Linked DNA regions of Homo sapiens: all the other regions are linked to region 3. Evidence: promoter capture Hi-C in human tissues and cell types (Jung and others, 2019). All regions are on one chromosome and are shown on one strand. The core of a region is centred on a gene start or on the middle of the fragment in contact, and the rest is flanking DNA. Distances in the headings are between cores, read along the strand shown. Region 1 overlaps LOC107984536 (a long non-coding RNA gene). Region 2 has its middle 540 kb from the start of SLC6A15. Region 3 holds the start of TMTC2 (transmembrane O-mannosyltransferase targeting cadherins 2). Region 4 has its middle 670 kb from the start of SLC6A15. Region 5 overlaps LOC107984536 (a long non-coding RNA gene).

The links. Contacts are between HindIII fragments. The study calls those that stand out against the background at their distance.
Region 1: a contact is called between a fragment that was not itself captured here and the fragment with the promoter of TMTC2 in region 3, in 1 of the 25 tissues and cell types used here (lymphoblastoid cells).
Region 2: a contact is called between a fragment that was not itself captured here and the fragment with the promoter of TMTC2 in region 3, in 1 of the 25 tissues and cell types used here (dorsolateral prefrontal cortex).
Region 4: a fragment that was not itself captured here is called in contact with the fragment with the promoter of TMTC2 in region 3 in 1 of the 25 tissues and cell types used here (heart right ventricle).
Region 5: a fragment that was not itself captured here is called in contact with the fragment with the promoter of TMTC2 in region 3 in 1 of the 25 tissues and cell types used here (mesendoderm cells).

What each region holds. Positions count from the first base shown.
Region 1 is chr12:84,124,361-84,128,340 of GRCh38, reverse strand. The region is part of intron 1 of LOC107984536 (a long non-coding RNA gene); the gene reads left to right. Among named protein-coding and RNA genes, the nearest start is that of SLC6A15, 790 kb to the left of the region's middle. RefSeq lists an enhancer at 1-330. The HindIII fragment of the contact is 3,410 bases long and covers 374-3,783 here.
Region 2 is chr12:84,372,959-84,376,868 of GRCh38, reverse strand. No RefSeq gene overlaps it. Among named protein-coding and RNA genes, the nearest start is that of SLC6A15, 540 kb to the left of the region's middle. The HindIII fragment of the contact is 3,472 bases long and covers 886-3,910 here.
Region 3 is chr12:82,684,539-82,688,475 of GRCh38, reverse strand. TMTC2 (transmembrane O-mannosyltransferase targeting cadherins 2) reads right to left here and starts at 1,570. Exons shown (of 12, transcript NM_152588.3): 1 at 807-1,570. The coding sequence starts at 889. RefSeq lists silencers at 550-609, 970-1,019, 1,590-1,689, 2,540-2,619 and enhancers at 1,730-1,939, 1,960-2,109. The HindIII fragment of the contact is 7,716 bases long and covers 1-3,937 here.
Region 4 is chr12:84,240,066-84,243,939 of GRCh38, reverse strand. No RefSeq gene overlaps it. Among named protein-coding and RNA genes, the nearest start is that of SLC6A15, 670 kb to the left of the region's middle. The HindIII fragment of the contact is 3,424 bases long and covers 29-3,452 here.
Region 5 is chr12:84,089,043-84,092,887 of GRCh38, reverse strand. All of the region lies in intron 1 of LOC107984536 (a long non-coding RNA gene), which reads left to right. Among named protein-coding and RNA genes, the nearest start is that of SLC6A15, 820 kb to the left of the region's middle. The HindIII fragment of the contact is 4,144 bases long and covers 229-3,845 here.

The sequences.
Region 1 (3,980 bases), core at 829-3,328, 1.4 Mb before region 3:
GCTCCAGGTGGCTCTGTGGAGCCCCTGCGCGCCTCCCCCACTGCAACCTGCGTCATGGCAGCAGCTGCTCTAGATAGGCCACAGCTGCCATCAAAAGCATAGCGCTTTCTCTGGCTGGTAGCGAAGGAAAAAGAGATTAAAAGCACGAGAAAGACTCAACCCACTGACCCACCGTTGCTGGCTTGATGGTAAAGAGGACAATGTGGGGAAAGCATTCGAAGAAAATCACTTCTGCCAACAATCAGTGAGTTTGGAGGTGGACCCCGAGACTTAGCTGACAGCCCCAGCAGATATAATACGCTGATTCAAGTTTAATGAGACCCTGAGAAGAGAATCCAGTCAAGGTGCTTTAGACTTCAGACTTTCAGAAGTTCAGACCTTCAGAACTGTGAGATTATAAACAGGTATTGTTTTAAGATACTTATGTTTTGTAAATTGTGGTAATGGCAGCAATACAAACTAATATAATACTTGTCCTCTTGACCTTGCATAAGGTAAATGGAAAGGTGGGTAAAGTTTGACTTAACTGATTTCTACATTTCTTTTCTCTATGTTTCTGCCTCTTCTTGTTTCCTTTCTTTCTAAAGCCATCCCAGGACAACTATCTATGATAGACCTCTACCAAAGATAGCTTTTTCAAGATGAGTGCACCTGTTCCAAATCACGTCAAGCAAAATTTCCTTTTTCTTTAAGTCTGGCTGATACTAAAGATTCTCTAGGTTGGAATTGCTTCCTAAACGTCCCCACTGGCATTTCCATTTCAAATTTGTATACAAGAATAGACAGATGAAAAGTAATAAATCTGAAGTGGTGAAAATTCCATCATTCTGATAAACAGATGGAAAAGATACTATACGATGGGTGGATAATTTCCAATATGTCCTTAATTACTCAAAGTGTGGTTTATGGACCAGCAACATCAGCAGCATCTGGAAACATGTTAGAAATGCCAAATCCCAGTCTCTAGCTCAGAACAACTGAGTCAGAATCTTGTATTTTAATAAAATTTTCAGGTGCTGCATACACAATAAAGTTTAAAAAGTGCTGCTTAAATTCCATTATATGGGTGAACTATTTCTTTACAGTTTAGAATAATCGTGCTAAAAATGCCCTCTCACTTAAGCAAGGGCATGCATAGAATTATGATGTCTCCTAAGGTGCAATTTCAGAATCATTATTTATACTAAGGATTGGAATCCAGGCAGGCTGAGATCTAACTATTTGAATAACCAGTCAGCCACTATACCATGATTGCTTTTATAAAGCTTTAGTTTCTAAATTGTCAAACTATCACATGTATCAAAACCTAGAATTCTATCTCCCAATTACTATTCTGTATCATCTGAAGAACCAAACAAAAACATTTTTTTTTCAAATAGTTCCAGACCTTTTCCATATATTACTTATATATGAAGTATTTTTTTAAGATTTTATTGTTTCATATAAACAGCCCTGTTATCCTGCTTGAATGAACTTTTTGATGTTTTCACATTTCATCTGATTGAGAAGTCACACATATTCCATGAAACAATCTAAAATTTTAATTGAACCATTGAACCACTCATTACAGTAAGAAAATTTTGTTATATTTAAGATGATTGATCATCTGTATTAATCAATTTCATGTTCCAGATTTTTTTTTTTTTTGAGACAGAGTCTTGCTTTGTCACCCAAGCTGGAGTGCAATGGCATGATCTCAGCTGACTGCAACCTCCACCTCCCAGATTGAAGTGACGCTTCTGCTGCTTCTGCCTCAGCCTCCTGAGTAGCTGAGACTACAGGCACGCACCACCATGCTCGCCTAATTTTTGTATTTTTAGTAGAGAAAGGGTTTTGCTATGTTGGCCAGGCTGGTCTTGAACTCCTGACCTCAGGTGATCTGCCTGCCTCAGCCTCCCAAAGTGCTAGGATCCAGATATTTTTCTAAGAACTGCATATGCATGAAATCTGAGTTATTTCTGACACTGATGAGTTATAAACTATTATTGACCTTGTTTTACTGTTAGGTAAACTGAGGCTTAGAAAATTGAAATTATATTTTAAAGATAATAGTTCAGCTAGAAATGGAAGTCAGACCATTTATGTAACAGCACATATTCAATATTTGATAACAAAATGCTTTTAATCAAATAGAGGCTCCAACTCTTAAAACCTCAGTTAAAAAACAAACATTAAAGAAATTCTTATGGAACTTGAGGAAGTACTAATTATTTTATCAGATTAGGGTAAAATACTTTAAAAGATAAACAAAATAAATGGAAGGAATAAATTAAAATAAAAGGAGATATTAATAAACCTCACCTCAGAGGTTGATTATGAAGAAAAATAATTTAATGCATGTAAAATATTTAGAAAAGCATCTGAAAAAAATGTAAGCCTTAAATACATTGTCATAATTCTTGCTATTTCAATTATTATTACCACTGCACCAATCTCACTGTGTATGTACTATACCAATCTCATTAAATAGTAAATGTACAACATCCCTCCCTGTTACATAGTAGATATTCTAAATTTGATTTCTTTCTCCTCTCCTAAAAGAAAATTGTAATATTTCAAGATACACAATAAAGTTAGTGTTTAAAAATAAAATAAATCATATTACATTTAAATTTATTCCTTAATATTTATACTATTATAATTTTTATCTTTTAGTCACCTTTTTCATATATACATGTGATGTTTTAGTCAAAGAACAATTATAACTTATAAATAAGAGTACATATAATATCACTGATTATTGCTTGAATCTAATATGAACAAAGTAGAAGCTTTTTAAGATTTATTTTCAAAAATAATATTAAATGTTAAGAAATATTAATACACACAATTCTAAGATACTTGTAATGTCTTTTATCATAAGCATTCAATTCTTCCATGAAATGGAAAATCCAAAAATACAATCAACAGAATGAAATAACATATTAAGTTAATGTGAGTTTCTAAGTGATTTTGGTTTTGTGTGTAATGGCAAGAGAATGGAGAAAAAGGAAAGCTTTAGAGTATTGTAATTCAGCAGCCCTGTGGAAAATATTTATATGACAAAATGCAATATATTCACATCCAGATCCATCACAGATAACAATAGCTCCCTGAGAGAATGCTACTCTCTCTTTCATATTAATACCGAGGTAGCTCTTTTTTTCCCTGTCATTTTAAATCACTGAATGGAAACTTAATGGGTTTTTATTGCCTTTGCTGACTGAATAATACCAAAATTCATTTGTGTAGCTCAAAATTTAAGTAAATATTTAAAATTTAAAAGTGAGTTAATTTAATTAAAGGTAAAAATAGTATTGGGTGATATATGCATATTTAGAATATGCTATGCAATACTAAAACTTATAAAAATGCTAAATTTTGCCAGGGTTTTTTTTTTTTTTTTAGACGCAGTCTTGCTCTGTCACCCACCCAGGCTGGAGTGCAGTGGCGCAATCTTGGCTCACTGCAAGCTCCGCCTCCCGGGTTCACGCCATTCTCCTGCCTCAGCCTCCGGAGTAGCTGGGACTACAGGCGCCCGCCACCACGCCCGGCTAATTGTTTGTAATTTTAGTAGAGACGGGGTTTCACCGTGTTACCCAGGATAGTCTTGATCTCCTGACCTCGTGATCCTCCCGCCTCGGCCTCCTAAAGTGCTGGGATTACAGGCGTGAGTCACCACGCCCGGCCAACAGGGCTTATTTTTAAGTATATGAAACCATCCATTTTTGATGACTGAATGTGGATGAAGGGGGAATTTGAAAGTGTTTAGTGTTTCTATGGTTCCAGCAAAAAGATCTGGAAAAATCACCCTTAATTTTTTACAACCAAAATCCCTATTAAATACCATTCTAGTAATGAATATCAGCACAGTTTTAGAGAAATAAAAACACATTTAAATTACAAATGGACAATATGAGTCATTGTCAATTGAAAGGCATTTAAGCAACCCTCAGATAAACCAAATTCCAGTCAGTCTATTACATCTCCAACACTGTGCT
Region 2 (3,910 bases), core at 1,372-3,871, 1.7 Mb before region 3:
AACCAGAAAAATTGAGGCTGAAGAGTCTACATTTGTTACAGAGGCATCAAATCATAAAGACCTGTATCATGACCTCTCCTTACTATGTTGTGCCCATTCTATATGTGGTCTGTTACTGAAACTATACTCTTTTATCTCTAGTTCAAAGTCCTGACAGAGGATCCAAAAATGTTGGAATTTTGAGAGAATCCACGTCTTTTTCCATGAACCAAGTTTTAAATCAACCAAGAATGACACTAACATGATGAACATAGGTTCAGGAGGTTAACTTAAAATTATGTTGTGGTCACTTTAAATAATGTTTCCTTTTAGTAATATAATTAAAACAGTAGTCATAATGGCAATTGAAGTGCAATAAAATGAGAGTGGAATTACCATTGTGGTTGAACTGCAGATGTGTTTATATTTGATAATAAACAGAGATTTCTATAAGCCTGAATTGATTAAATGATTATAAAAATAATTTCCCATAAAATCAGTCATTTCATTTTAATCACTGTCTGTAAGCTCATTCTGGAGAAAAGCTTTTAATATATATCATCATTTCTTAGCCATTGCTTAGAAAATAAATGTAGCTCATGTATTTAAGTATTTTCAGAAAATGCAATTTCGAAGCAAATAAAAACTCATGGCTTTAGAAAAACAAAAGGGTTTGTATGACCATTTACCAAAAAATAGAAAACATAACTTTCTAAAATCAAATAACATCTATGATTTTGTGTCATCCATTCCAATTTTTAAAAAATTATCTTAAAAATATTACAGCATATTTTGGCTGATATAAAATCTCAAATCTCAAAGGTATACTTTATTCACGTTACTTTTTTGTTTGTTCAATCACCATGGCTACTCATATTCAACTCTTAACACCTGCAAGTGAATCAAAGCCAACTTTTAAGATGTTTTGGCATCTTACATCTTCATAGGGGAAAAGAGAAAGTAAAACTCTTTTTTTCCTGACCTTAAATTACAATTTACATCAATAATAGCATCAGATAGCCAAGCTATATTTTTTTCCTGGTCTATTTCAATTTCAATGATTCTTATCTTCATGAGACTCTACTTACAAAGATAAGTTGAATGTGCATATAAAGGCAAATAATTTTGCTAGTGCTTCAGGACCCATTTGCTGATTTAACTGTAATAAACTGTGGCATATCTTTTATGATTACTTACACTAGATGGCTGAGTAATGCCTCATCATATATTCCTGAACTGTTTAAGTAATCATGTCTGCTATTGTAAGCTTTATCTGAGACTAATGGACTGCAATGTGAGTTATGAGCCCTCAACTGAAGGTTTTGCTAGAATATGAGACTTAACTTTCTTGCCACAAAGGTTACATGATATGTGAACATTATAAAAATATGTGTGTATGAACACATGACTATTGGCTGATAACCTTGGCTTCTTTTCTGATTGAGTAAAGAAAAAAGAAAGCACCTCATATAGTAATAAAAAAGTTTATAAGTTTTACTCATCAATAACAGAAAACATCTTTTTTTTTGGAAAATAAATGAATTTAGTTGATTACTTAAAATCAAAAGCTTGAGAAATTTGGCATTATTTTTTAATTATATGAATATTTATTTAAACAAGTCCGGAAATACTATTCATTCATATTTTTGCATCCCTGGTTTTTAGTGCCTAAAAACTGAGAATTTTGTCAAAATTTCTATATTATTCAAAAACACATTTATTCAAGTGTGTCCCTACAGCACCTTAGGAGACTTGAAAATTTTTTAACAACTGTTAAAACCAAACTAGTGTATTTGATCAAAGGCATCTGATTCTAGTAACTATATACAAAACGAGGTAAAAAATGAATAAATAATTTTACTCTCATTAGACATAACCATTTTGATGTCTGTAGTGTTTATCAAGTCTGACCGCTTTAATGACCTTAAGGTAAAGGTTTCGACAGTGTACTGTAATTGACTAACACGCATAATAGTAGAAGAGCAAAGCAAGGGGTAGAAGTAGCATTCAAAATCGCTAAATATAATATTTTTTATCCTAAAAACAACATACTTCTTATATAGTGGGCTGCAGTTAAAGAGGATTTAGGGATATTCTCTGTTTTGAAATAAAATTGGAAAAAAAATTAGAGTGACCATTGAAAAGGTCAGGATAATGGCTTTTTTGAATTGTATATATTTTACAAAGTGGAAAGTCAGGAAGACATTAATAGTGATACAATAAATTTGTTATTGAGAATGGTCTACATAAAATTTATAACCATGAAAAATAGCATTTTTTAATGACAGATTGAATAAATGTGTTAGATGTTAAGGACATATTTATCATGCTCTAAAAAAAGTTTAATTTAAATATTTTTACATATTTACATATTTCTTTCTCAATTGAATTTTAGCATAAAACTGAATTATACGTAATATAGAGAGAAGGAATTCATTTGAGGGCAGGAGAGGTATTTTACGTTCGTGTAACTGAGGATGGAACACATTATTGTGCACTTTCCTAAGGAGACTACAAAGAATTCTCATATCACTAAGGAATGAAAAAGGGATGCTATGACAATTAACTAGTTTGCCTACCATTCAACTTCTCTAATGTTCAAAAAATTTGTCACAGAGGACTACAAACTAAAGGAAATTGAAAATATTCATCTACTTTACTTTTAAAAATTTCCACCTATGCCAAGAGTATAAAATTATTATAAATTTAGATAACTTGTTTCAGCAATAGACCTTAAAATGTGTCTCAGAAAAATAGGAGTGGTGAGAGACGGCATCCCTGTCTTGTGCCAGTTTTCAAAGGGAATGCTTCCAGTTTTTGCCCATTCAGTATGACATTGGCTGTGGGTTTGTCATAAATAGCTCTTATTATTTTGAGATACGTCCCATTAATACTTAATTTATTGAGAGTTTTTAGCATGAAGCGCTGTTGAATTTTGTCAAAGGCCTTTTCTGTATCTATTGAGATAATCATGTGATTTTTGTCTTTGGTTCTGTTTATATGCTGGATTACATTTATTGATTTGCGTATGTTGAACCAGCCTTGCATCCCAGGGATGAAGCCCTCTTGATCATGGTGGATAAGATTTTTGATGTGCTGCTGGATTCAGTTTGCCAGTATTTTATTGAGGATTTTTGCATCGATGTTCATCAGGGATATTGGTCTAAAATTCTCTTTTTTAGTTGTGTCTCTGCCCGGCTTTGGTATCAGGATGATGCTGGCCTCATAAAATGAGTTAGGGAGGATTCCCTCTTTTTCTATTGATTGGAATAGTTTCAGAAGGAATGGTACCAGCTCCTCCTTGCACTTCTGGTAGAATTCAGCTGTGAATCCATCTGGTCCTGGACTTTTTTTGGTTGGTAAGCTATTAATTATTGCCTCAATTTCAGAGCCTGTTATTCGTCTATTCAGGGATTCAACTTCTTCTTGGTTTAGTCTTGGGAGGGTGTATGTGTTGAGGAATTTATCCATTTCTTCTAGATTTTCTAGTTTATTTGCGTAGAGGTGTTTATAGTATTCTCTGATGGTAATTTGTATTTCTCTGGGATCAGTGGTGATATTCCCTTTATCATTTTTTATTGTGTCTATTTGATTCTTCTCTCTTTTCTTCTTTATAAGTCTGCTAGCAGTCTATCAATTTTGTTGATCTTTTCAAAAAACCAGATCCTGGATTCATTGATTTTTTTGAAAGGTTTTTTGTTTCTCTATCTCCTTCAGTTCTTTTCTGATCTTAGTTATTTCTTGCCTTCTGCTAGCTTTTGAATGTGTTTGCTCTTGCTTCTCTAGTTCTTTTAATTGTGATGTTAGGGTGTCAATTTTAGATCTTTCCTGCTTTCTCTTGTGGGCACTTAGTGCTATAAATTTCCCTCTACACACTGCTTTAAATGTGTCCCAGAGATTCCGGTATGTTATGTGTTTGTTCTCATTGGTT
Region 3 (3,937 bases), core at 321-2,820:
GGTGACATTTTCCAGAAATCGATGCAGTTTCTTTGACAACACAGTTCAGGTCTCATTAGCCACCCAAACTAACCTAAGTGCAGAAGACAACTTCAGTCTCTAGGGGCGTCTTCTTCTCCAATTAGTACAAAAGAACCACTAACATCTAATGTACAACTCCCAAACAGAAATGAGAAAGCCGAGGCTTTTATAAAGTGCTGCCCAATGGATTGGTGAAGGAGGCTAGGGCGGCGGGAGAGACCATCAGCAGCATTATTTTGGCTCAAAGTAAAAGTCTATACACGTTAAAAGGGAAAGTTAAAGCAGAGAACGATCTCCCTTTTCACAATTTTGGCAACTATCAAACGTGTGTTTTAACTTCGGGAAATAAAAGTGTCCCATCAATAAAAGGAAACGGGACAGGGAGGATCTATCAGGGATCGAGGAGAGGCTTCCTCCCAACCAGACGTAAAATCACTTAATGTGCTTTGTTGCATCAAGGAATACCTAAGACTTTAATTTAATACGTTCATTAAACAGTTTCCCAAATTGCCGGGATTTCCGCTAAGAAACTCAAGCGTCTGCCAACAGCCGAGAAGCAAGGGAGAGAACCTGCTGCAAACTAGGAGCGGAAACTCCCTCGGCCCGCCCAGCGCGCCTCACGTCCCCGGTGTTTGATTTAGGTGTTAATGTTTACGTGTCGCCTAAACCATCAGGTGCTGAACCAGTTCCTCCAAGACGCACTTTGAGCCTTAAAGAGGGAAGCTTCAGAGCCACTGCGGAGTGTGCCCCCTGCAGCCCGTCGCCCCCTCCTCTCGGCCCCTTACCTGTCATCATAGCAGAAATCCGCACTCAGGGTGTTGAGATACAAGGCGAGCCCCAGAGCGCTGCTCACCAACTCTGCAATCATCTCTCCACCGCCTTCCCTCCGGCTCGGCTCCCAGCGCGAGGGCAGCAGCGGCAACAAAAAACAGAAGCATCAATCTCCACCTTCCGCCGCCTTCTCCTCCCAGCTTCACTTTTCCCTCGCTTCCCCACCCTCCCTCCCTCGGGTCCTTCCAATCCACGACTCCTCTCCTCCTCCTCGCGCCCGTCTCCGCAGCTCCTGCGTCCTCCCCGGGTGCGGGCTCACACCACACTCCCCATGCCCGGCGCCCGCAAGCGGTGAGCGGCGTTTGGGCTCCGCGTCCCCCGGCGGAAGCGCAGGGCTGGTCTTTCGCGCGGGTCGCGATCCCCACCCTAACCCATGGCAGTTTGGGGCGTCCTAGGTGAGGAGTGGGACTCGGAGGAGGTGGAAGGGTGCGGGATGGGGGCAGAGGGACCGGACCAAGCCGGGCTCTGGGACCAGCTGGAGGAAGAGAGAGAAAGAGGCGCGGGTGGGAGGGACAAGGCGAACCGCCTCCCCTCGCCGCCTCCCGGGCGCACTGCTCCGGTGTCGCTCGGGCGGACTCCGGCCGCCAAGGCAGCTGCTGCACATTCAATGTTTATTAGCTCCCTCCCAGCCCCAGCCCCAGCCCCAGCCCCAGCTCCCTTCTCCAGTGAAGTGAGAAGCGGTGGCTGGAGACTCCAGAAGCTCCCGCGTGGGGTTCTCGACGCGGCCCCCCGCGCCTGCGTGACCAACCCTCCATCCCGGCTTGGCCCAGCCCCTTTCTCCACCCAGATCCTCCCGGAAGGCTCCTCCTACCCTGCCCCTCGGGCTGGAGGCTCCTCCCACCCTCCCCGGCCTGGAGGCTCCTCCTACCAGCCTCCCGTCCTCTTGTTTCTTTCACCTTCGATTTCACTCTGGAAAGCCCCCGGGACCCAAGGGCGACGGCTGGAAGACAGCCCAAAGGAGTAGATACAGTGCACCCTGGGAGGGGAAGCTGGGAGAAAGGAGGTCGAGGAGGAGGTGGTCGGTCGCCCCGCTGCTGCCTGGCAGCGCCTGGCACGGCTGAATCTCAGCCACAGCGCTGTGTGTGCCAAGAGCTGCCAGGCGTAAGTCCGGTCAGCTGGAGAGACTTCTGAGACCGGGAGAGGAAGAACAGGTTTGGCGACTGCTGCAGCTTCGGTTGTCACAAACTCACTGGCGATCTCTCACGCACACTGTGTGTGAGACTAAATGGGGGGGAGGAGGTAGTATTGGAGAGCTTGGAGGCAACTTAGGAAGGAGAGATTTCAGCTCTTAGCCTACGGTTGGCCACAATGTCAGTGGAAAGACGTGTAGGGAGAGAAACGTTTCCTCCTTCAGTAAGGTTAAAAAGAAAGGACCCCAAAAAGGGAAAGAAAGACACACACACACCCCGCAGCAACTGCCCGGGGACCCCTTCGTGGTTTCAGAGGGACTGTCGGGTTGACCCTGAGAACACAGGAGAGAAACCTCTAGTGCAAGCCGGTACAGCATTATACTTAAACCTAGTAAGGCAGTAAGCTAATGCCCTTTCCTTTCCGCTCGGAGGCAGGACTGGATGGAAAGCATCCAACATGGTGAAATATGGTGTAGAATGGTCTGTGTAGAACAAGCTCTGGGTACTAAAGTTGCAAGACCAAAGAGGACCCAGGGCTGCCTGACACGCCTCCTCCCGGCTTGTTGGCTTTCTGGCCAGGAGAGTAGCTCCGGTGCACCGCGATGTACACTACTGCAGCGCCCCCTGCTGCATAGTAACCACAAGGTGTGGAAGACAGGTCTGTTTTGCATGCGGGCCGACTGGTTCCAACCAAGAGCAGCACCTAACCAGCAAGCTCTCCGAAACTGTGGCAAGAAATTGAGCCCCCTGGGTGTCTAGCAGTGGCCTGGAAAGAAAATACCGTGGTCTGGGCTTCTGTAGAACAAAGCTACATATTTCCCTGATTTCACAAGGAAATCTGAGAAATCTGTATTGGATACACACAGATAAAATGATGAATATTTATTAATATTATACCTGTTATGCCATCCACAGTAGCACATTTTTTGTGCCCTGGACAAATATATGTAAACAAAAATAAAAGGAATTATGTCTTTACAGGTAGGGACTGATCTTTTACCCTTTTCCTCCATAACCTTTGCTCACTTGAAAATTTTGAAAATCATATCAGTTAGTCCATCCTGATGCTCTGTGTCTCTCCAATGCACTTACATGCTGAGATATATATAGTATATATAAAATATGTATATGGTGTCCTAGAACACTGAAGGAAGAACACATACTGTGGGATCAGATGTTTAAGTTTGAGTGCATACTCTGCTATTACTATTTGGGCGATCTTTGGCCAGTCGTTCAACCTCTTTGTGACTCTGTTTTCTAATCTATGAAACAGTGATAATAATAGTACTTATCTTATGAGTACTGTTATTATGAGTATTAAAGTAGTTAACCTATGTAAAATATCTAAAAGGGACCAGGAAAGTGCTACAGAAGTATTAGCTAGTATATCATTATTACTATGCTTTCTAGCTTCCTCGTTTCATTTTACTTGTTAACAAAAACCTGGACAGTTACCTCCAAAACACATCCTATCACATCTTTACTACTTGAGTCCACAGCCCAGCTGCCCTCATCTCCTGCATAGACAAATGCAGTAGCCCTCTAAGTGGTCCCCGTACTTCTACCCCTGCAATGCCTCCCTTCCCCAATTTTAACTTTAGGCAGAAGTTTCCTTTGAAAACCTATACATTCCCAATTTTTAAATGTTCCACAACTTCCTGTTGTATTTTTAAATGTCCAACAACTTCCTGTTTTACAGCTAATAAAACTAATTCTTACCATGGCCAGCCAAGCCTTCATTTAGCCCAGACTACCCCTCCCGCTTCATGTTGTGTTCATATGTGTACAACACAGACATCCTTCTCAGGAACTAACCACTTTCTCTTCCTCCTGCATGAGGTTCTTCTCCTCAAACCTTCTCTAGCTCCTTCTCACCATTCAGGTCTTAGCTCAAATGGCATAACCTCAGAAATAAAGTAGGCTCTCCCCCATCAATCTCTATCCAACCACCATGT
Region 4 (3,874 bases), core at 491-2,990, 1.6 Mb before region 3:
TGGGCTTGGTGGCTCATGCCTGTAATCCCAGCACTTTGGGAAGCTGAGGCGGGCAAATTGCCAGAGGTCAGGAGTTCGACACCAGTCTGGCCAACATGGTGAAAACCCGTCTCTACTAAAAATACACAAGAATTATCTGGGTGTGGTGGTGGGAGCTTGTAATCCCAGCAACTCGGGAGACTGAGGCAGGGGAATTGCTTGAACCAGGGAGGTGGAGGTTGCAGTGAGCTGAGAACACACCACTGCAGTCTAGCCTGGGAGACAGAGCGAGACTCTGAAAAAAAAAAAAAAAAAAAGCAGTATGCAATCTGTAACAAGCTCCCCAGGTATGTAGAAGTTTTCTTTCAGGTGGTAATGGCAACTACAGAAAGAAGCTTTGTGATATGACTAAAACATATGTTAGTCTTTGTTCAAGTCAAAATGAATATTTTCACAGAATACGTTGCCGCATAAGAGAAAAAGTATATAGCAGTAAGATAAATGAATACTAGAATAATTGGAGAAAAATAGTAACTCAAGCGCTTCATCCTAAAAGTAGTGATTGAACATGGATTGATGGAGGAAAGAAGGAACTACACACCATGAGAGATGGAATAATATAGGCAAATATATAGATATATAGTATGAGAAACAGCTTTGATGAGTTTCAAGAGCATAGAGAAGACTGTTCCAGTTAAAAGGCTGGTGGTTCTAATTCAGGAATAAGACAATTATAAAATTGTATAATTACCAGCATTTGTATAATGCTTTTGTTTTCAAAGCAATTTCCATTACATTTATCACAAATTATTTTCAAAATGACCTTGTTTAGTAATCATACTAAGCATTGCTATAATTTCTACAAAAGCTATGTAAGACAGATTATGAGGGTTATCGGCAAATTCATTGTGCTGTGTTTAAAACATACTTATATAAATATAACAAATGTGAGGAGTTTGAACTTTTAAAACACTGAATGGTATGAGGAAGACCCACATGCTTTTGAACGAAATCACAAAAATTACAATGGAAAGACTGCATTATTGCAATTTCAAGAGTTTGATTTCACCCAAAATTCAACATGCCTGAAATATAACCTTGCTTCTTATAGATATGAGATATAATGTCTTACGTTAAAAATAATAGCCCTGAAATTCTTCTTGAAAACTTTTCTAGATTTAAAGTAAGTTATGATAGAATTATTTTCCCTCTATTTTATGTTTTTTCATAGAAGTGAGACTTGTAATTTTAAGTTTATATTTACCTGTTAAAAGAAGAAGAAAGAAGTTAGGTCATAATAATCTATATTTTTCTGAAAAACTGTGACCAAATAATTCATGTTGTGACAACCCGTACAACAGACATCATAAAGGGATGTTTGGAAGCCCTTCTGTGAGTATCTACAACCTTAATTAGATTTTTAAACAGAATCTGAGCCATCAGTTACTGAGGGTTTGAAAAATGTTATGAATGCATCTCTTATTCTTATATACACACATGCAAAGATATTTGTGCAATGCCTATTTAAAGCTATATAATTTTGAAAATAATATAGGGAAAATCAGTACTATAAATTGTATTTCATCTCTCCGAAATTCATATGTTGAAGTCTTACCTTACTCCTGATGTGATAATGGTATTTAGAAATGGGGCCTTTAGGCTGGGCACTGTGGCTCACGCCTGTAATCCCAGCGCTTTGGGAGGCCGAGGCGGGCAGATCACGAGGTCAGGAGATTGAGACCATCCTGGCCAACATGGTGAAACCCCGTCTTTACTAAAAATACAAAAATTAGCTGGTTGTGGTGGTGCTCGCCTGTAGTCCCAGCTACTCAGGAGGCTGAGGCAGGAGAATCGCTTGAACCCAGGAGGTGGAGGTTGCAGTGAGCCAAGATCACGCCACTGCACTCCAGCCTGGCAACAGAGCAAGACTCTGCAAAAAAAAAAAAAAAAAAAAAAGAAAAAGAAAAAGAAATGGGGCCTTTAAGAGATAATTAGAGTTAGATTTAGATGTGGTTATAAAGGTGAAGACCTCATAATGGGACTCAGTGCCCTTATAAGAACTGGAAGAGACACAAGAGCTCTACCATGTGAAGACGATGAGAAGGCTGGCATTTGCTAGTCATGAAGAGTCCTCACCAGGACCCAAATCTGCTGGCACCTTAATCTTGAACTTCCTAGTCTCTAGAACTGTTAGAAATAAGTGTCCATTGTTTAAACCACCCCAAACCACCCAATCTATGGTATTTTATTAGAGCATTTTGAATTGACTGATATTGTCAGGCAAAGTAGAATGAAATTGGTTTCAGGAGGATCAAAACGACATCTGTGAAAAATGACTTTCTGAATATCACAGAATACTTGCACAAGTGAGTAACTTAAAATGATAATATACAATGTTATTATAATTGTTCACTAGTAATATGTGGATTTAGTGAATAAATTATTTCAAGTTTTAAACAACTTATTTCCTGATACCAGTTTTTTGCAAAGGCAAATGGTAATTACAAAATAAGAACTCTAAATAGCTTCTTATAAATCATGCAAGAATTTCAAGTTCTTGAATACCACTATTTGATCATTGTTTAGTGTTTTACTTTCTCTGTATTCTGTATAATGTATAATATTAAATAGCTTATGTCATTCTAAGAAATAAGCTATTTTGTAGGAAATATTAGTGCAGTTAGACATCTGACTATAATAACACTTTTTGGCAATACTCTTGTGAATAATTCAGTAACTAACAGCTTACTAACCTGAAAGAGATATTTTCTTAAAAATTGAAAACTGAACAAGATTTATGCTCTTTTTTGCATCACATTTATTTTTATTAAATAAATGCAATAATTGCATGGCTTTTATCATTTAGAAAAACATTTCTCAACTTAAGAATTCCAATTATGCTGCAGTAAGACCCTCCTAAAGAACCTTCACCATGGAAACAACTATAAAGCCATCATATATTAGGAAACAACCTGAAGACTTTAGATATTAATAGAAGCAGGCAGATACTGGAGAATAGTATACTCTTAGAGGAGAAAAGCAGTATAAAGTTATCTCCTCATTTCTGTGGCTTTTATCCTGGAACTAATTGCATTTTCAGTGTCAGGAGTATCACTGGTAGAAAAACCTGTAATCTAAGTTGGGGAAACAGAAGACTGTTGGCAGAAGACCATCATAACAATAATTGTGGGAAACTCAAAAAGAAAAGAGGCAGAGAAAAGATGCCCAAATTATGTCTTCCTATATTTTTCACTGATATCTGAGCCGTGCATACATAGAACAGACTCAGAGTAGTTCACCTAGAGGCAAAAATTCTGAACTGTTGCTGAAGCTGCCTTTTGTGAAAATAGTTTATAGTTTAAGCATAAGCAAGAAAATCACCTGAAAAAATAAAAGAAACAAAATCATCAGAGAAATATGTGAACCCAAATAATTATAACTTAATATTCATAATGTCCAAAACACAATCTAAAACTACATGACACACAAAGAATCATGAAAATGGCATGCATTTCCAAGAGAAAAGAAAAAACATAGTCTGCATAAAGGTAAACTATATATTCAAACTATCAAATAAAAGTTTTAAAGCAACTATTATTAGTGTATTCAATGATGTAATATCAAATAGGCTCATTAAATGAAAGAAATATATAAACTCTCAGGAGAAATAGAAATGATAAAAAGGACAAGATAGAAATTCTAGATAGACTGGATTAAATAATATAGGAAAGAAAATCACTCTGGAGTCTTAACATCCAATGAAAGATGACAATTACATTTTAAATGAAGTAGAAAATAGATTAATAGAAAATATTCCAGGTAAATAACAGAGGGAGAAAAACAGTCTCATCAACTTTTAATGTAATATCAGACACACGTGTAATTAAAATTTTAA
Region 5 (3,845 bases), core at 1,051-3,550, 1.4 Mb before region 3:
TCATATACTAAGCTATATAGAGATGAATACTGTAGCCCCAATTTTGCTTACTCATGTACTCTAAAAACTCTATAGAGTACCTAACCTTAATAATGTACTTAATAAGTATTTTTGAGTTAATAAATGAATGTAAATATATTTTGGTCTACATAAACAGGTGTTTCTATCACTTGATGTCAAGCAAGAAAAATAGAAACTAGTAGTAAAACTAGTACTAAAAACTGATATTGATAATGACAGGAGACAGACAAATTCATAGGCAGACAGGGACAGGTCCCTGGTTAAACCCAACTTTCAAGCTGAAGACAGTTTAAAGTTTGAAAACTGAGCTGCTAGTTCCAAGTAGAGCCCACCTCTTAACCAATTGAATGGTGCTTTTTCCAAGCTCACCCATGGACCAGTCAGCACACACTCCCCCATTCTGAGCCCATAAAAACCCTGGACTCAGCCTCACAGATGGCTACTGCTTTCGGACCCCCTCTCACAGCAAAGAGCTACCCACTTTGGGTTCTCTCTCATTGTCAAGAGTTTTTCTGTCACTTAATAAAATTCTTCTCTGCCTTGCTCACTCTCTGTTGTCCATGTACCTCAATCCTCTTGGTGGCAGGACAAGAACTCAGAACCTACCAAATGGCAGGTGTGAAAAGAGCTGTGAGGCTTCTCACCAACTAGTCAAGCTGCAGGCAGCAGGAAGGAGAAAGCTGTGGCATTCCCCAATTCACTGAGCTGCGAGCAGCAGATGTGAAAAGAGCTGTACATACACTCCTGCCCACCAACTATGGGAGTTAAAAAGCCAGCCACTGGCCACCACACAGTCCTGTGTGCTGACCTAGGGGAACAAAAGAGCTGTGACATTTTTGAGGCTCCAACCTCAGGACACCCTAGCAACAGCTGTAACACCCTTTGGGGTTCCGTGATTCCTGACATGTCCAAGTTTTCTGGTGCAGCCACATACCCTCATCTAAACACCAACGCCCAACAGGGAAGCTGCTCATGGCACACCCAGTTCAGCCACGGGCTGGATGCAGATCCTGTGGCAGGCGTGGGATCCAGACTGGGGCATGAGCCAAGCACAGCCTGCCTGGCCAAGCAGGCAGAGCAAGCTTGGTAGCCATGAGCAAGTCCCTGGGCAGAGGACACTGTGTCCACAGGGGTTTCCACTTGGTGAAGTGGCCCCAAAGGAGTCCTGTAACAGTATTATTGTAACTTTGGGTTGTAACTTCACATTATGATTTTCACAATATTTAGGAGACTAATAAACCAAAAAAAGTAGTTTAAGGTTTTTGGCATACAATGTATAAAGATGTAATTTTGTGACATCAACAGCTAAAAGGGCTGGGAAAAAAGAGCTTATAAACAATCAGAGGCTTTGAGGTTAAACTAGTATAAACTCAAATTAAAGTATTATAACTTCAAAATGTTAAATGCAATCTTCATGGTACTCACAAAGAAAATAGATAAATAATATACACAAAATGAAATGAGAAATAAATTTAAATGTTTCAGTACAAAAAATCAAACACAAAAGAAGGCAGTAATGCAGGACATAAGGGACAAAAAAGCTATAAGGCTTATAGAAAACAAATAGCATAGTGATAGAAGTAAGTCCCTCCTTACCAGCCATTACTTTTAAACAGCAATTAATTTAAACTCTTCAGTCAAAAGACAGAGACTGGCAGAATTAGTTTAAAAATTATCCAACTATATACTGTCTATAAAAGATTTATCTTAGAGACAAAGACACATATAGCTTGAAAGTTAAAAATACAAAGAGAAAATGAATATTCCATGGAAATATTAATCACCAGAGAGCAGGGGTAGCTGCATTAATGTCAAACAAAATAGATTATAAATTTTAAAAAAGTTGGCCGGGCGCGGTGGCTCACGCCTGTAATCCCAGCACTTTGGGAGGCCGAGGCGGGTGGATCATGAGGTCAGGAGATCGAGACCATCCTGGCTAACAAGGTGAAACCCCGTCTCTACTAAAAATACAAAAAATTAGCCGGGCGCGGTGGCGGGCGCCTGTAGTCCCAGCTACTCGGGAGGCTGAGGCAGGAGAATGGCGTGAACCCGGGAAGCGGAGCTTGCAGTGAGCCGAGATTGCGCCACTGCAGTCCGCAGTCCGACCTGGGCGACAGAGCGAGACTCCGTCTCAAAAAAAAAAAAAAAAAAAAAAAAAGTTACAAGACAAAAAAGACATTATATGTTAATAAAATTTTCAATATAGCAAGAAGATTAACACTTATATACACACGTGCATAGTAAGAAATCATCAAAATATATAAGGCAAAAGTTGATGAAGTTGAAGGAAGAAATAGAAACTCCCATAATAATAGTCAGCTACTTCAATAACCCACTCTCAGTAATGGATAGAATAACCAGACATAAGATAAATAAGGAAATAGAAGCTTTAGACAAAATAATAAACCATGTAAATCTAACAGACACATAGAAAACACTGTATCCAACAACAATAGAATATACATTCTTCTCAAGTGCACATAGGAACATGGGACATATTCCAGGATAGATCATACATTAGGCCACAGATTAAGTCTTAATAATTTAAAAAAGATATATTTCATACAAGATATCTTCTGTGACCACAATGCTACAAAGTTAGAAATCAATAACAGAAGGAAACAGAAAAATTCACAATTTGGTGGAAATTAAACAATATACTATAAAACAACCAGCATATTAAAGAATAAATCCTAAGAAAATTAGAAAATATGTAGAGAAAGATAAAAATGAAGACACAACAAAACAAAACTATTGGGACACAGGTAGTGCTAAGAGATAAAATTTAATTATAAATGCCTACAGTAAAATATAAGAAAGATTTCAAATCAAAAACCTAACTTTAGAATTTAAATAACTAGAAAAATAAAAACAAAGTCCAAATATACTAGAAGAAAGAAAATAATAAAGAGCATAGATATATAGAGATGAAAAAATAATACAGAAAATCATTAAAACAAAAAGTTGTTTTCTTGAAAAATTAAACAAAATAGATAAACCTTTATATGGACTCAAAGAGAAGATTCGATTACTCAAAAATTTAAAATGTGGACTTACTGCTGATCCTACATAAATAAAAAATATATGCAATACTATGAGCAATTTTCTGCCAATAATTTGGATAACACAGATGAAATGAACCAAATACTGGAAGCACAAACTTATCAAGATTCAACCATGGGAACTAGAAAATATGAATAGATGTATAACTAGTAAGAAGATTGAATTAGTAATCAAAAATCTCGCAAGAACATAACAAAAATCCTGGATGTGAAATCTTCACCAGTAAATTCTTCCAAATACTTGAAGAAATAACACCAACCCTTCTGAAACGTTTCCAAAAAAAGTAAAGAGGAGGGAACACGTCCTAGCTCATTCCGTAAGGCATGCAATAACCTAAAACCAAAGCCAAACAATGATAAAATAAAACTACAAGCCAATACTCCTTATAAAAACTGATGCAAAACTCTTCAACAAAATCTTAGTAAGCCAAATTCAGCAGCATATTAAAAAGTTATGCACTATGACTAAATGAAATTTATTCCTGAATACAAAAATGGTTTAACATGTGAAAAATGATCAACATTATACACCACATTAAAATAATTAATGAAACAAAGTCACATGATCATCTCAATGCAGAAAAAATAATTTTATAAAATTCAACACACTTTCATGATGAAAACACTCAACATAGTAAGAATAGAAGAAAAATACTTGAACATAATAGAAACTATGTATAAGAAAACCTCCAGTGGACATCATACTCAGTGGTGAAATACTGAAAGCTTTACCCTTATGATCAGGAACAAGGCAAGTATGTC